2 separate regions of the Homo sapiens genome follow, and region 1 is linked to region 2. The links are contacts of gene promoters, found by promoter capture Hi-C in blood cells and fetal thymus (Javierre and others, 2016). All regions are on one chromosome and are shown on one strand. The core of a region is centred on a gene start or on the middle of the fragment in contact, and the rest is flanking DNA. Distances in the headings are between cores, read along the strand shown.

Region 1 (4,820 bases), core at 2,321-4,820, 5.8 Mb after region 2:
GCTAGCACTGTGCGTCATATGGCAAGAGTGTAAAGAGCCTGAAGCCAAAATGTTTGAGAACTGCAGTGATAGAGTACTGTGGACAGGGTGGTCAGGGGAGGCTTCTCTGAACAAGTGATGTTCAGCTGAGCGCCAACAAGAAGTCAGCCACGTGAAAACCAGAGGGACATACATTCTAAGTGACGGGAAAAGCCAGTGCAAAAGTAGGTACCCAGGCGAGAGCAAATAGGTGCACTGGTAACAGAAAGGCCAGCAACCTGGCATCCCAGAGGCTAGGGCAGTGCCCACTATAAAAGAAGGACTCAGTAAACAGCTGCTGGGTGAATAGAGGGAGGGAGAGGAGGAAGAGAAAGGAGGACTGGGAGGAAGCTCTCTTCTCATTAGGGGTCTTGTAGTCCTTTGAGGGCAGGGGGGCTCACAAGTTCTGCCAGCCGTGGGAGATTCCCAACTCTTCTTACCACGCCTTGAACACTGCTGCACAGACCAGCCTCCACTTCTTAGCTCAATCTGTAACCTCCTCTGAAGTGTCCACCCTGCCCCCACCCCAATATCCTATCAATATCCTCATCTCCTACCGAACCAGTCCAATGAATCTTGGAGAAGCCATCCTGAAATGCCCTGCACCATCACTATTTTCTCCTGATTTATTGACTATTCCCCATCCTTCAAGGTTCCCCTCAAGTTTTGATTCTCCCAGAAAGCCATCCCTTACTGCCCCCACCCTCACCCCACCTCCTCCTGACCTTCTTTCCAACAGAGCACCTCTGGCCCCCAATCTCATCATCTGGTGCTAACACAGAATGAGGTTTCAGGGAACACTTGCAGGGCATCAAGCGCTGTCTTAGCTCTGCAAGAACGCTTGGGAACCTTCACAATGGCCCTATGAGGTGGGAGTGGTCTCCCCATTCTACAGAGCCGATGGAGGCTCAGGGAAGGGCAATCATCCCCAAGATCTAACAGCAGGTGTGTGGCAAAGCTGGGATTCAAACTGAGGATTATCAGTAGTCTCAATCCTAAGACTGACTCCAAAGTTCTTTTAAAACTTGGCTACCCAGAACACTGTTCTGAGAAAGAGCCTGAAAATGCACCCAAGTTCCCAAAGAGAGATAGGCAATCAACTTGCAATGTCTGTCAAGGATGCTGAAGGGAAGAGTGGCGATGTGTGTGGCTTATATTTGCCAGTCCTTCACGATCACACACTAAACTCTATCTTTTTCTCTGTCACCAAGGAACTCTTTGACTCCCCAGTGAAGTATAAGATCCCTGGCAGGCCATGCGCGGTGGCTCAAGCCTGTAAACCCAGCACTTTGGGAGGCCGAGGCGGGCAGATCACGAGGTCAGGAGATCGAGACCATCCTGGCTAACACGGTGAAACCCCGTCTCTACTAAAAATACAAAAAATTAGCCGGGCGTGGTGGTGGGTGCCTGTAGTCCCAGCTACTCAGGAGGCTGAGGCAGGAGAATGGCGTGAACCCAGGAGGCAGAGCTTACAGTGAGCCGAGACCGCGCCACTGCACCCCAGTCTGGGCAACAGAGCAAGACTCCATCTCAAAAAAAAAATAATAATAAAATAAACAAATTCCCTGGCAATAAGAACCTGGATTTCTGGAAGCACTGCCCTAGGCATAAAGAAGTGTTATTTTTTAAAAATACCACCAGGCACAGTGGTGCACGCCTGCAGTCCCAGCTACTCAAGAGGCTGAAGCAAGAGGATCGCTTGAGACCAGGAGATCAAAGCCAGCCTGGGCAACATAGCAAGACCTCATCTCTAAAAAAAAGAAAAGAAAAATAAATACCAATGGTGATAATGGTTGCACAACAATGTGAATGATACCACCAAGATGTTCACTTAGAAATTATTATGGTGGTGAAGTTTTATGTTATGATTATTTTACCAAAATTAAAAAATAAAATACCCTATTATATTGACTTCTAGGGTCACTCTTGAGGAAAGGCTGACTCACCGAGAGAGCCCACCCCTGCTCCTTGAGAATGCCACTGGCTGCCCCCTCTCCCCTAAACAGCACGTCCCTTCTGCTTCATAGGCCACAGTCATGTTTCCAGCGTGAATTGATTTTTAATAGCAAAATGGCATTTTACACAGAAGCAGCTACATTCATGGATGAAAACAAAAATCCAAGTGACGCTCCTTTGTTGAATCCATGTAAAAATCTGATTTTTAATCTACAGAGAAATTTCTACCCACACATTCGGTATCCCCTGGGGGTAATGACATGGAAAACAAACATCTTTTCTGGTCTGTTAAAGTAAAACAATGGGTCCCTGGATAGACTCTCAAGAGGGCCTTTGATGGAATGGAACCAGTCCCCCCACCCCGAAAGCATCCCCCCAGCTCAACATGTCACCATTTACACCAGCACAGCCCTCACATTGGGTCCACAGCACAACCTATTAAGAAAGGATTATAACACCTGTTCGGATTGGGAGGCCAATTCCTCAGCTCTAAGATCCTGCTCATAGCAAGCTTGATGTTCAGTAGACTCCAAAGCAGACTGAATGAGGGAGGGGTCGAAGAGAATGTGCCTGCTTGGGCTCAGCCTCCTCTAATATTGTCAAGATGCACACACACTCTTAGAATCTCACAACCATCGCCAATCTCTATGTTGGCCTAGTCCCAATCCTTCTGCCTCTGGGAACAAAAGGTTCATTACCCACCAAGGCATATTTTTCCCTCTCTGGGACCAGGATCAGCTCTTGCAAGCTTACTCCACACTTGTATCTGCCCCTTGCAGCCATGCATGACAAATGGGCTCCCTCCCCAATGGAATTATCTTATAGACTTGCAGCCTATGACTGTGTTTCCCCTGATCTTCTCCAGGGACTTCCCACCACCATGGGATGACATGTTTTCAAGATTGCTCCCCTTCCGAGCCTTTATTTTCACCTTGGTCCTCTTTACTTTCCAGTCATTGCAGAGATACTTCCAACTGGGGTAGACATGTATGGATTCTGTTTATCAAAAGATGGACCAAAGGGTCTTCCTAGTTTCAAAAAGTTCTGCTCAGTTGTCTAAAATGTGGCCAGAGGCCATTGCAAACTCCTCTGAGTTCCACCTGGGCTGGAAAAGCCAAATGGCCAGCCTAAAACTCAAATCCACTAACTCCCTTTCTCAGATCATATCCGTCGCTCCCCAAGGCCTAAGGATAAAATCTAAACTTCTTGGCAACCAGACCCGGCACCATGTCCATGTCTCCTATCTCTTGCTACATTCCACATGAACCTTCCAGAACCTCTTTGGATCCTCTCTGATCCCCAGAAACTGGTGTCCACCACTCTCGCTGCCCGGAACTCATCCCCACCCACACTCCACCCAGCCACAGCTCAGCTTAGATGCCTCCCTCTCCAGAAAGCCACCACAGGGTGGATTAGGTGTCTCTCTGTCCCCATTCCACCCCCCTGCACCCAACACACTAGAATTAAAGCTCCTGAAGACCAAATGGTGTTTAACTACCACTACATCCCCAATGCCTGGCACACGCCTGGCACAGAGTAGGTGCACATCAATCTTGTCTGTCTCCTTGGTGCTCCCACAGACCCCTGACCAATCATAACACCCATCTCACTGAATCACTATCTACTTCACCAACTCTCCCACTAGGCTATAAAAGCACCATGACGAAAAAGCCCAGGTGCAGGTCCCAGCGCCCAGAGCAGTGCCTGGCACATAGTAGATCCTTAGCAGCATCAAGTCTTTGCAGTTAAACAAAGAGGAGTTTCAGGAATAGGAGGTGTGAGCTTCCTGCTTTGAGTGAAATGGAGCAAGGCAGCCACTAGAGGATGGCAGGCAGGCACTTCCGGGTGTAGACTACCCCATCCAAGGTCCCTGCCAGCAGCCAAGGCATGTTCTCAAAGCTCTTTCTAAGACATCTTTTCTCTCTTGTGCCCTCTGCAGCTCAGGCCTCTGGATCACCCTTCACCCCCACTGCCAACTACAATTGGTTAGCTCTGAGTCCACAGTTGCCAGAGAAAAGGGCTCTCAGCACCAGACTAGCATTCAACGACCCAAGCAACCTGCCTCTAAGGTCTGTAAGCCAGCCTTTGACCTGTCCCTAAACTGATCCAATCCTCCAGGCCCTGCCTTGAACTGTCTTCTCCTGCAGACTCTGACTACCAGACTGAGTCAGCAAAACCTTGAACTAGTGCCACCTTTTACCTGCACCTGGAATCCCTTGCGTATGCTCCCTGCCCCTCTACTCCCAAAGGACGTTCCCTCAGTCTAAAGAGATCAAAAGTCCCTTCCAGAAAAACTCCCGTTTCCTCGGTGCAGCTAAATTGCACAGAAGAGTTTATGCTAGAAGAGCTAAAAGTTAGAACAGGAAGCTCAGATAATTTATACTACTAACATGTAAATGACTGACGGAGTTATAACCCTTCTGAATACTCTGATCTAAAGCTTTATGTCCTAGAACTTCCAAAACACAAAGTCCCCAAAATGAAGACTCTAGGCCCTGGCCTGGGGAAGGGTGACTCTATACAAAATGGCATATGCTCTGTAGACACCAGACAGGTATTTTAAGGTTTATAAGAGCTGCATCTACTTGTGCAAACTACTGTAGCTATAAGGCTATATTTTTTTAAGAACTGAAACCAAATGCAGACTATGAGGAGTGAAGATATGCCCAATGGCCAAAACCTTGCAAGACTGGCTATACTTCTGACCCCACCTTGGTGGGTACCACTGCTCCATCAGGCCTGGTCCACACCAGAGCCCTGGCACCTCCTTTAGAAAACTACCATCTTTACCGACTTCTGATTGTTCTGACTCAGAGCAGCCACCACGCCCAAAATTGTTAGCTATG
Region 2 (4,913 bases), core at 1,239-3,738:
ACAATGCTGCATTTTGAAAAGTGCTCCAAATAATTCTTGTTTTTATTTCACTCGTAAATATATTTTTTCTTACTGATTGAAGTGTCCTTGGTAGAGAAATTAAAATTACTGAAATAGAAGCTATTCCTGTTTGCTAGAAAACAAGTGGCCCTGCTTCTCTTTTCAAAATGCTTTGATAAACAAAACGTTGAAAATCTGCCATTTGCCCACAAAAACACCACCCCAACTTTGGCAGAAAAAGCAAAAACACCTCAAATGAACTATGTGTTTATGGGTCATTTGTCACAGCAAAAGGTTGCTTTTTAAAACAGTATCTAGTACAAGGTACGTTCAAGTATCTGTTTGCAGAAAAGGTCATGGTCCGCTTAATAAATATACCAGCTCTTCCTCCCACTTTAGAAAAAGGGAAAAGCTATTTCTAAAGTAATATATAGTTTTCCAGGATTCTACCTCTGAAATTGGGGCGTTAAGAGGAGTATTTAATTCCAGGAAATGAAATTCTAGAAACTCCAGCCTTCTTAGAAGTATTTCATGGCAGCTCTGCCTATGGAGTAGCCATTCTTTTATTCCTTTACTTTCTTAATAAACTTGCTTTCACTTTTCTCTTAAAAAACAAAAACAAAACAAATAAAAGCATTTCATGACAATCCTAGCTCCACTTGCTCAGTAAAGATATTTTTAAAATAATATCACATGGACATATTTTAAAACTGCACCTTTATTAGAAAATGAGTATACTTTCAGAAAAAATGAGTTTACTTTCACAAGCTGAAGCTTAAATTCTGTCCAGGTAACCAGCCTCAACTGTAAAAAGAAATCTGAAAGAGAAACCAACGTGCCCTTTTGGGCAGTCATATTGAGTTTCACGTCCTTTCAAGACTGCCTAATTTAAAAATAATAAAATATATATATACTTGGTAATACCTTTAAAAAATAAGTTTGAAGATTTATTCAATCTTCTACTCGTAACCTACTGGTAACGATGCCAGTATGTAAAACACACAGGTTTAACAACAAGAAATAACAGTAGGCATGTCACTTACTATAATGTTTAAAAGGAGTTATGTCAGTATCTTATTTAGGGTTTTTTTTTTAATCAGGAAGAAAACAGGCTTACTTTCAATCTAATAATGTCTTAACCAGGAAAATGAAAGGGCGAGAAGTTCAGAATAACGGCCTCATTTTACCCAATTCCCTAAAAATAAGGTGAAAACGTAGGAAGGTTTGCTTTTGTTTTGAAGAATTCACCTAAAAATCCCCAGGGAACATCTTTTTCATTTTTCCTTAGCACACTCAAGTTTCAAATTCACTAGCTCAGTATTTGAAGAGGACCACTCTTACCTTGCCGCTTTACTCCCAAATTATTGTCCCCAAAAAGTATCTTTTAGGGAAACAAAGCAGCTTCACCTGCAGTCCCACAAACCAATAACAGAATATGATCCTTTCTCAACTTTACTGCCCCCAAACTGCAAGCTCTCAAGATCAACGTTTGCCTCAGTTTTAGCAAAAAAGCAACATTTCACCCAAGAAAATGAAATGGTCTGAAACACGCCTACACGCTGTCCTTTCTAAAACTTTTCGGCGGCGAAGTCCAAGCGCTCACCGCGGTGCTCGGCGCATGAACACAACAGAATCTAAAATTGTTGCCGCTTCACAGCAGCGATACAAGCTACCGGTGGCCTCGGATTGAGGGCAGATTTTTAACTTCTAGCAATTTCCAAACTTTTTCATTGAAATACTCCAACAGCTGAAGAAATTAACTCGGACCCCTCACAGTCCAGAAAGGTTTAACCCAAGCCAAGCTCATCATTTCCAACTTGAAATCTAACCAGTTGTGGAAATTGTGCGTTCCCTCCTCTCCCTGGTTCCGTTTACTGCAAAACCAGAAGCCATGACTCACCGAGGAGGGGACCAGAGCCCCCGGGAGGCCGGGCCATGTTCTCCAGGAGCCGGACCCCAGCCGACCACCCGCGCTTCCCGTCGCCTGCACCCTCCGGCTCCGCGACGCCCGGAAGAGCCCGGGCCTCCCGTGAAGGCCCCCCCGGCGTCCCCGCACTTGGCCTATCGCCCGGCCACGCCCGCGCCTGCAGCCCACAGATGACGCCAACCCGCCCTGCACCCACCCCAAGCACTCCCCACTCCCCGCGGGCCGCCCAGCCCCGGCCCCAGCGTACCTGTACCCCCAGGTGCACAGCAGGGACTGCCTCAGGTGCGAGCGCAAATGCCCCAGCGTCGGCTCCGTCTCGGGCACCTCCAGCGGCCAGGTCCGCTTCAGAAGCCGCACCCGCAGCCTCATGACGGCGGCAGGCGGCCCGAGGGGCCTGGACCCGGAAGCGGCGACGGGGACGGCGGCGGGGCCGAGCAGCTCCCGCCCCAAACGGCGACGACCCCGGACTGGCGACTACCGGAGCTGAGGGGTAGCTGAGGCGAAACGGGGAAAGAGCCCCGCCACAGTGGCCGCCCTGCCACTCGGTCTCTGGAATAGAGCGCCCGCCCCTCTCCTGAGGGCGCCTCCTGGAGCCGACCCCGAGAGCTGGAGGCGGGCAGGCGGCCTAAAGGAACCGGGCCTCTCGGGGTCGGCCGATCGATGACTCCGCGCGCAACGGCGCTGCCTGAGAGCGCGGGCACAGTGCGCAGGCGCCGAGATGCGGCCGCTCGCTGGCATCCCAGATTTTCCGCGGCGGTGGCTGGGACTCCCAGTACTTACTCCCTGTGTGCGTGGAACAACGGTAGCGCTGATAGGGATGCTGCAGACAGACAATACAGTCGCCACTCCCCAGGACCAAGTGTCACCCCCTTTCTTCCGTGGCCCTCAGTTCCAGCGGCATCTGCTCTGAGAAGCCTTAGGTTAATCCTTAGGTTGGCCGGGCGCGGTGGCTCACGCCTGTAATCCCAGCACTTTGGGAGGCCGAGGCGGGTGGATCGTTTGAGCCCAGGAGTTCGAGACCAGCCTGGGCAACATGGTGAAACCCCCCCCCCCATCTCTACAAAAAATACAAAAAATTAGGTGTGGTGGCGCCTGCCTGTAGTCCCAGCTAGTTGGGTGGCTGAGGCGGGAGGGTCGATTGAGCCCGGAGGTCGAGGCCTCAATGAGCTGTGATCGCACCACTGCACCTCAGCCTGGTTCCACAGAACGAGACCCTGTCTCAAAAAAAAAGTAGAACTATTTGTAGCCAGTAATCTATGTCCGACAGTTTATTAGAACTCTGTGGCTGCATAACAATCACCCCAAAGTTTAACGCAATAAACATTTGTTGTCCCACAGGTTTTAGAGGTAAAGGGATTTGGGGATGCGTGGCTGGGTGGTTCTGTCTCCAGGTCTCCCATGAGATTACAAACTGTAGGCCAGGGCAGCAGTTATTGACTAGGGCTGGAGGATCGGCCTCCAGGATGGCACAGTCATGACTGTTGGCCAGAGACCTGTTTTCACCACGTGAACCTCCCCATAGGGCTGTTTGAGTGTCCCCATGACATGGCAGCTGGCTTCCTTCAGAGCAGGTGATCCCAGAGAGACCAAGGTATAAGCCACAATGTCTTTTATGACCTAGCTCCAGAGGTCACATACGGCTTTTGTCATATTTACAAACCAACCCTATGTGTGAGAGGATCCAGCCAAAGGTATGAATGCCAACAGACAGGGATCGCTGCGGGCCATCCTGGAGGCTGGCTACCATAGAGGGTCTAACTAATGATAACTTAGATGAGAGAGAGTATCAAGTTTCGTCCTTGTGTGATAACCATAGTCCAAATCCTTAGAGTCAAATAAAGTTTCTCCCAATAGGTGGCAGCACTTGTCCACATCCTGCCCTTGATTCTGCAAATAAATATGTATTGATTGCCTACTTTGTGACAGATACCCCACATGCTGGAGACTCAAGAGACCAAAAAGACATGTTTCTGCCCATGCAAAGTTTACAGTTGAGTGAATCAGCTCTTTCAGTAGAGTGTAAAAAGTCTCTGCTTTATGATAGACATAAATACAGACCTGAGGAATGGGATTGTTAGAAATGTTTGTTTTTTGATGTTGTAAAGAAATAGCACTTGAATATAAATTTAATTTTTTTAGCAAGGCCATTTTTATTTTTTGTAGAAAGGGTATACTCGCCAGCAGTTTTGTCACGAGAGTACACCGAACAAAGGAGACAGGGTCATATATAACCTGATGTGTCCACTTTACTGCTGTGTCTGGTTTTTTGTTTGTTTTTGTTTTTTTTTGTTGTTGTTGTTGTTTGAGATGGAGTCGCGCTCTGTCGCCCAGGCTGGAGTGCAGTGGCGTGATCTCGGCTCACTGCAAGCTCCGCCTCCTGGGTTCACGCCATTCTCCTGCCTCAGCCTCCCGAGTAGCTGGGACTACAGGCACCCGCCACCACACCTGGCTAATTTTTGTATTATTATTATTATTATTATTATTATTATTATTATTATTATTTTATTATTATTTTAGTGGAGATGGGGTTTCACCGTGTTAGCCAGGATGGTCTCGATCTCCTGACCTGATCCGCCCGCCTCGGCCTCCCAAAGTGCTGGGATTACAGGCGTGAGCCACCGCGCCTGGCCTGTGTCTGGTTTTTATTGGCTGGAATGGGACTTTATATTTTGTATTTGTCTTGATTGGCTAGTAATTTAGAACTTTTTAAAAGAGGCAAAGGCAGAGGAGAACAAAGCAAGGAGGAAGTAACTTGTGGAATGTTGAGAAAGGTCAACACCCCTTTAAGGAAGAGGAATAGGCTATGACTTAATGTTTGTTTGAACTAGTATAAATATGTTAGGGCAAATATTTAGGCTAAATTGTGGGAGTTAAGATTGTAAAGTACATTGATTTTTTTATTATGGCTAGCAGATATTTAAGAATGTTAGCATGGGTGTTTGAATACATTTTGGTTTTAAGAGGGTACATAGAGGAGGTTTGCCAT

What was found. Contacts are between HindIII fragments. The CHiCAGO score rates a contact against its expected background, and 5 or more counts as called.
Region 1: a fragment that was not itself captured here is called in contact with the fragment with the promoter of FBXO7 in region 2 in 1 of 17 cell types (total CD8 T cells); the score reaches 5.1 in total CD8 T cells.

What each region holds. Positions count from the first base shown.
Region 1 is chr22:26,673,716-26,678,535 of GRCh38, reverse strand. MIAT (myocardial infarction associated transcript) reads right to left here. Exons shown (of 5, transcript NR_033320.3): 5 at 2,058-4,820. All of the region lies in intron 1 of MIATNB (MIAT neighbor), which reads right to left. Among named protein-coding and RNA genes, the nearest start is that of MIATNB, 3.3 kb to the right of the region's middle. The HindIII fragment of the contact is 1,692 bases long and covers 2,725-4,416 here.
Region 2 is chr22:32,472,386-32,477,298 of GRCh38, reverse strand. FBXO7 (F-box protein 7) reads right to left here and starts at 2,488. Exons shown (of 9, transcript NM_012179.4): 1 at 2,175-2,488. The coding sequence starts at 2,296. RefSeq lists enhancers at 1,972-2,141, 1,727-2,227, 2,396-2,565, 2,228-2,728, 3,454-3,513 and silencers at 1,898-2,207, 2,218-2,407. The HindIII fragment of the contact is 4,456 bases long and covers 777-4,913 here.